Linked DNA regions of Homo sapiens: region 2 is linked to region 1. The links are contacts of gene promoters, found by promoter capture Hi-C in blood cells and fetal thymus (Javierre and others, 2016). All regions are on one chromosome and are shown on one strand. Each heading gives the region's core, a stretch centred on a gene start or on the middle of the fragment in contact. The rest is flanking DNA. Distances are from core to core; before and after follow the strand shown.

Region 1 (3,475 bases), core at 906-3,405:
ACTGTCATGAAAACTGAGTAAAGAAGTAGATACAAGACTAAAAATTACTAGATTTTGAGAACTTACTATGTGCCAGATCCTAGGCATGCTAGTTTACTTCACTAAATCCTCACAACAATTCTGTGACATTGGTCTTGTTATCATAACCCCATTTTACAGATGAAGAGCCAAGGCACTGGGTGGTTAAGTAACTCATTCAAGGCCACAAAGTCAGGAAGAGATAGAGCTAGGACTTAAAGTCAGGAAGAGATAGAGCTAGGACTTGAACCCAGGGTATCTGACTCTAGGTCAGAGTGCCTCAACTTTGGCATTACTGACATTTTAGGCAGGATAATTCCTTACTGCGGGGGGGAAGGGCGTATCCCACACATTGTCAAATGTTTAACATAAAACATTATGTTTAATGTTTAATCTACCCACTTGAGGCCAGTAGTATCCCCCACCCTGTGACAACCAAAAAACATCTCCAGACATTGCCTAATGTCTCCTAGGAGACAAAGCCAGACTTGGTTAAGAACCACTGCTTTACAGTCTAGCACAGGACTAAATGCTCAATACCTAAGGGTTCCCTTTTTTTTTTCTGGTGGTTGTTGTTGTTGTTTTGTCTGTCTCCGAGCCCAAACACCTCACTCACAGAGCCACTGCCCCTTCAAGCTGTAATGGATCTTATATAGGATAAATTATTCCACTCATTCCCCTGGAGGTCTCACTTTCTATCTGCTATCGTAGCTTGGGGGTACAGGGAAAAAGGGCTTAGGCAGATGACCTTGAATAGTTCCACTTCTTCTTCCCCAAAGCCTACCACTTTCAGTGGGCCGGGGGACCGGTGGTCAGAATGGAGTTAGTGGCAATACCATACCTGCCTCATGATAACGGATCTTTGTTTAATAAATGAAGAAGATTCTGCCCTTCACAGGGATTACCACACTCCTTCAGGATTATCTGAACTGAAGATTTATCACTTTGTTCCTCAGCACCTGAACTCTGCTCATCTTCATATACTCATCCAGTTTCATACATTACTTTTAGGTCCTTGGGTCCCCTGAACTCCCTCTGTCTCCCATGCAGCGATTTAAGGAAAATCTCTTTAGCAGCCCAAGACACCAATCCACAAATCTACTCAGGGTCCTTTGATTTTATAGCCCAGTTAGGACATCTCCACCCCACGATTCAATCCTCTCCAAACCCTGTCCCCAACCCTCTTACAATTCCAAATTCCAATCTTTGGGGCTGTATATTGCAACCCTCGTCAATTCCTCACTCATATGCCCCAAATCCCTCGGACTCAGATCGTTTAATCCCTATTTCCAAATCTCTGCCACACTCAGCCCCGCACCTCAGTTCAACGCCCCAATTCCTCACCCCAGATTTCTGCTCTCCCTCAATCTGAGCCCCCATCTCCTGCATTCCATCGGGCACTGTGCTGCCCTCATACCCTGCTCCTTCCTCTTATGCACTGAATGTCATGTGCTGCCTTCACACCTCAGCCAGCTCCCTTCTTTCTGCTAACAAGATAGAGTCCCTCAAGAACTCACCCCACCCCCTCAATCTCACCCTCAGCCCACTCCGAAAACCCTTTCTCAATAGCACTTAGGATCGCCCTAGACCTTGCTCCTATCATCTCAGACCCTGTCCTTGCCAGATGCCTAGCGCCCCCAGATTTCCTCAAATCTCATCGGGGCCCCCCAGTTCCTTCATATTTCTGAAATTCTGCACCCAGGTCCCTCCAGGGCCCTGATTCCCTCCCATCTCCCACATGCTACACCCCGTTCCTCCTCAGGGCCCCGACATTACCTCATACCTCCCGAGATGCTGCAACCGCAAATCTCTTCAGAGCCCCTCGCTCCCCTCCCCCAGCTGCATCTCCTCGGATCTCCTCAGCCCCACGAATCCCTCCCGAGCCTGCCCCTCGCAGCCCCACCCCCACCCTAGTCCTGCCCCCCCCAGATCCGGTCCCCACACCCTGCCATTCGGGCGCGGCCGCTGCACGCCGGCACGTTCCCCCGCCTGGCCGCTGAGCCACGGCCCACGACTCCGGCCGCGGTCCCCAGTCCCCAACCCTCCTTCCCGCCCCCTACCTGACCGCCCGCGGCTCCGACGAGTCCACCGCCGGCAGCCCACCCGCCTGCCTCCCTCTGCGCACGCGCCGTTGAGCACCCCTTGCCGGGCGCCAATTCGCAGAGCTCCCTGTCCGTCACTGAGCCCCGCCTCCCCAGCATGCTGGGGCTTGTCGTGCAGCTGGCCCCAAGCGCGCGGGGCAAGGCGGCCCTGCAGGGGTGAGCTTTCCTCTGAGAACCCGGGGCCTTAGCGACACGTAATCCAGTTTTCCGTCTCCTTGGTGCAGATGAAGAAACCGACGCCCATGGGCGAAAGGGACCTGCTCAAGTTCACTCAGTAAGTCAGGAGATAAGCCAGAATGCGTATCTGACTCCAGTCTCAATGTCTACCCCTTCACAAAACGGTAGCCTCCAGGGTAGTCCTCAGCAAAGCGTTGGCACCTTACTGAATCTGTTTTTCCATCTGAGAAATGGGCCAACGGAAAAATCAAACTTCCATTCTGGGGAAGTCGAGAACCGGGACTCCCTAGGAAGGGCAGTGCTTTGGCCTCATGTTCTGTGCTCTGACAGAGAGCTGCACTAGAGACAAGTTTATCCATGAACACATTGCTCTGTAAAGGAATGTTTTGCCTACTCAGCTGGGAGGCCGACAGCAGAGGCAGACTTGGGGAGTACACTCTGCAGCCCCTGTCCCTGCAGACTGAAGGTACCCGGGAACCCAAACCAAGTGTAGTTTTGCTCGGGTGAAGGTGGAGGAATCTTACCAGGTGGGAGGTGATCTGGCCTGAGATTTGAGGGAATCTGGGGCACTAGGCATCTGGCAAGGACGAGGTCTGATACAGGACTGGCTGGCCACGACCTGCAGTCCCTGAAGTAGTTTGGGGCCAATCACCTACTCTCCAAGGTGACTATACTGTACAGCTTAGGAGCACAAAGGAGTTTGAAGTAGGATGGACTTGGATTTGAAATTCCCCTTAGCTATGTGACCCTGCACAATGATAAAACAATAAACAAAAACAATGACTAACATCTTTGAACACTTGCTGTCTGGCTACAGCTGAGGACTTCAGGTGCATAGCTCACTAAATCCTCATAAGGACCTAATGAGATAAGGCAGCTGATGGTTAACCTACACCTGTTGTGTAACCTAGGTGGTTACACAAGGCCACATATACCTAAGTGTTGGAGCCCAAATTTGTACCCAATTCTATCTGAGAACCCACTCTCTTAACCTTGTTTACTCTTTCTCCCCATTTTCTAAATTTCTAATTGAAGTTTGCCATGAAGATAAGCCAAGATTATGGTAGTTTGCACTTAATGATAACTATATTTGAAAAATTGTAATTAGCAGGTAGGGGATAAGGGAGAGGTAATGCCAAATGATTTCTCACTTAGACCAGTTGGGGAGACTTTGCACC
Region 2 (3,927 bases), core at 1,182-3,681, 1.1 Mb after region 1:
GGGAGGCCGAGGTGGGCGGATCACGAGGTCAGGAGATCGAGACCTTCCTGGCTAATACGGTGAAACCCCGTCTCTACTAAAAATACAAAAAATTAGCCGGGCGAGGTGGCTGCTGCCTGTAGTCCCAGCTACTCAGGAGGCTGAGGCAGGAGAATGGCGTGAACCCGGGAGGCGGAGCTTGCAGTGAGCGGAGATCGCGCCACTGCACTCCAGCCTGGGCGACAGGAGCGAGACTCCGTCTCAAAAAAAAAAAAAAAAAAAAAAAAAAAACTCTAATCTGGGATAGATGAACACACACATAATTTCTTTTTAAAAAATTGAGAAATGTCGATATGTGTTGTTCCTTTTTTCTGCCTCATTTCATGAATTCCCATTTTAAAAATGGGACAGTTGAGGTCCACAGGACAGTCACACAGTGGTTAAAAATGGGACAGTTGAGGTCCATAGGACAGTCACACAGTGTTCCAATGCTGTGCTTATGCAATGACAATGTCTTTTGGAAATATGTATCAAGACAGAACCTCTATTGGCCTGTGTGCCTGCCTGAACTATGCTGAACAGAGACCCATGCTAACTGATAACATACTGTAGTGTGAACAGAAAATAAATGTATGTGAAGAAAAAAAGAACTTAAACAAGAAGTCCTCGAGATCTTTTTGTTATTTGCTTCTGCAGCATAACCTCAGTTACCCTGAATTCTATAACACATCTTTCATTAGCTAGCTTCTGTTTTGCTCCCCTCTGGTTCAAAGGGTACAGGGGACAAGGAGATGGGTCATTTATTATTCCTGATTGACTTCTCACTCTCTAGGCCCTGCCGAAGATTAAAGCTGACTTCCTTTCTCTTGGGGTGTTTCCCTGAACTCCTCAGAGGTTTCATGTTGGACACTCCTCCCCTGCAGCTTCTTTGACCCCAGGCTTTTCTAGCTATTCTAGGAGGTCTCTGGGGATCTGTCCTCATTATCTGGGCCTTCACACACAAGTATACCCCCAGTCTCCTTTTGTAAGTTTTCCTTCTCCCTCCAGGCAGACCTACTGGACAAAACCAACCAAGACTCCAGTGAGCTCTGTATCATTGGCCCACACATGTTCCCTGGGAAACAATCACTGGCTCCTTGCCCTGATGAACTTTCTAACTGCAGGTCAGTAGCAATGCAACAGTCTCTCCTGGCTCTAATTCAAAGCAGTTAGTCAGCTCTTCTTTTCTCTTTCATATTTACTGAAGCCAGACTTCAGTCTACAGTCAGCTTTAGATTTCTTAACATGACCTAATTGTGGCCTTTCATATCTCAGACTTGCAAGGGATGCATTCCAGAGTTCTTTAACTGGTATCCCTAGAGCCCCCCTTACTAGCTAAGCATTGGAAGATAGCACAGTATATTAGATAATAGGGAAGTCCAACTGCTATAACAATCAACCTTCAGATCTCTCTGTCTTGACTCAGTAGTGCTTATTTCTTATTCATGTCTCCATCCATGCAGGTTGGCAGCAGAGAGGGACCCTGTTTCAAGCTGTCATTCATGGACCCTTGCTCTTTCCATGTAGTGGCTCAGATCCTCCATGGCCTTTCAGTTCTCCTCTATATTCATTTCATTCAGCTGCAGAGGATGAGAAAAAGAGCATGTGAAGTATCACACAGGAGATTTTAGAAGCCAGACTTGGAAGTAGCATTTATAACTTCCACTCATATTTCTTTGGTCTGTTCATTGCAATGAGAGTTGAGAAACATAGTCTAGCTGTCTCCAGAAGAAAAAGGAACCATGTAGCATGTTTTAGGCAACACGTCACATTGTTTCTACTTCAGTCCTCAGCTCTGGTTACTGAATATCCATTTTACTATTCTTCCCATACATAGAATACACTCAGCTTGTTCCCAGGAGAAATAAGCCAAAGTCCCACTAAGTCACCTCATCTAGCTCAAGGTCCAAGATACTTCACTGATGCATAGTTTTCTCCATCAGTTCACAACATGAGTTCTCAGGTTCTGGGTAACTATTCAGAAAAGAGGTAAATAGGAGACACACAGCAGTTACTGGACTAATGCAAGTTTGAAATCTCGCTGGGGAGACATTGTGAAGGTCCTCTATGGAGAAGAGAGAAAGTTCATGGATAAGCCCTGATTTTGTTCTCTGAACAATACTTCTTTGGGCACTCATTGTTTTCAGTGGCTCTTGGCTGCAAACTCAGACGTTCTCTCCTATCCATTACACTCCTATGCCACAATTGAAGTGGACCTTTGGGAATGCCTTCCTTGGGGGCTACTTATACTTTGCAGCCTATATCCAATCCAAAAGTTGTTCTAAGCTTTGCCAAGCCCTTGCAGGGTTTTGAACTGGGATGATGCTTTCATGGCAATATTGTTTCCTCAAAAATATTGTGGGCTTATGATTTATTTGATTCCAATCAGTTTCATGTACTAGTGAATACACCCAACATTCTGTCCCAGATAGAGTTTTTAAATTTTTTTTTTTTTTTTTGCATCCTCCTCATAGGCTTCCTCATGTCCCATCTTTATGTGTTGACAGCAACCTTGAAGTTATCTGGAATAGTAAGCTTGAGAGATAACTGTAGCTCTTTTCAGAATTATCTTTACTGAAGGGCCAAATTACTTTTCCTTTTGTTATTCAGACTACTTATTGAATTCTTGCTATGTAAATAGCTTTTTAAAAATTATTTATTTATTTATTTATTTACCTTCTCATCTTTCACTGTTTGAGACCTAGAAGCAGTAGGTTTTTCTAAACATTTAATGCCACAAATTTCTGGAATCTTTTTAATTATCTTGCATTTGAGGTTCCAAACTGGGAAATTCTTTATGGAGCTCATCTCTTTCCTTTATCCCTTGTCAATGTCAGCCAAAAGAAGGCAAGATAGGCTGGGCACCGTGGCCCATTCCTGTAGTCCCAACACTTTGGGAGGCTGAGGTGAGCGGATCACCTGAAATCAAGAGTTCAAGACCAGGCTGGCTGATATGGTGAGACCCTGTCTCTACTAAAAATACAAAAAATTAGCCAGGCATGGTGGTGCATGCCAGTAATCCCAGTTACTCAGGAGGCTGAGGCACAAGAATCACTTGAACCTGAGAAGCGGAGGTTGCAGTGAGCCAAGATCACAGATCACACCACTGCATGGCAACAGAGTGAGAAGCCATCTTAAAAAAAAAAAAAAAAAAAAAAAAAAAAAAGCAAGCTATACCCACTCTGTTGTTTTTTTTTTTTTTCCAACTGTGTACCTTAAAGCTATATTTCTCCAAGTGAATGGTCTGCTTTACACCTTATGGCATGCAACTCTTTTACCAAATGCTCTTGTACCACATAATATGGTCTGTTATCTACACAGCCTCTGATATCATTTTTCTAGCTGACCAACCACAAAGCCAAAGACACATATTTATTTTCTGTGGCAATACTGCCATTTACCAATTAATGTATTAGTCGGAGTAATTCTGTATCAAACCACCTCAGTGTCCCAAAGACTTTTCACAATAAAAGTATATTTCTTGCTGCCACCATAGCTGAATGAAATTTGGCAACAGGGACTCTATTCTCAGCAGTTAATAAATTCCCTGGTTCATTCCACCTCGTGTCTCTGCTATCACATTAGATTTTGCTGCATGTTAGGGTAAAGTTGGTAACTTAAAAAAACAAAGCAAGACAATACAAAACTCTGATGCCCAGCTCCTATGCCATACTAATTAAATCAGAGAATCTGGGAGTAGGAGCCAAACATCGTCAGTGTTTTTTAAAGATCCTCAGATTTTCCAAATTACAGCAGATGAAGAACTATTGCCCTAGAACAGGAATCAGCAAACTATAGCCCAAAGGCAAAATTCAGCCCACTGTCTGCTTTTATAAATAAAGTTTTATTAGCACACACAAGTTATTGAAACAAATTTTATTGGAACATAAATCCATTTATTTATGTATT

The links. Contacts are between HindIII fragments. The CHiCAGO score rates a contact against its expected background, and 5 or more counts as called.
Region 2: a contact is called between a fragment that was not itself captured here and the fragment with the promoter of TRIM32 in region 1, in 2 of 17 cell types (M0 macrophages and M2 macrophages). The highest score is 6.7, in M0 macrophages.

What each region holds. Positions count from the first base shown.
Region 1 is chr9:116,685,985-116,689,459 of GRCh38, reverse strand. It overlaps TRIM32 (tripartite motif containing 32), which reads right to left and starts at 2,155. Exons shown (of 2, transcript NM_012210.4): 1 at 2,079-2,155. The region is part of intron 16 of ASTN2 (astrotactin 2); the gene reads left to right. RefSeq lists enhancers at 1,679-1,728, 2,169-2,488 and a silencer at 1,899-2,098. The HindIII fragment of the contact is 17,529 bases long and covers 1-3,475 here.
Region 2 is chr9:115,587,471-115,591,397 of GRCh38, reverse strand. No RefSeq gene overlaps it. Among named protein-coding and RNA genes, the nearest start is that of LINC00474, 340 kb to the left of the region's middle. The HindIII fragment of the contact is 249 bases long and covers 2,307-2,555 here.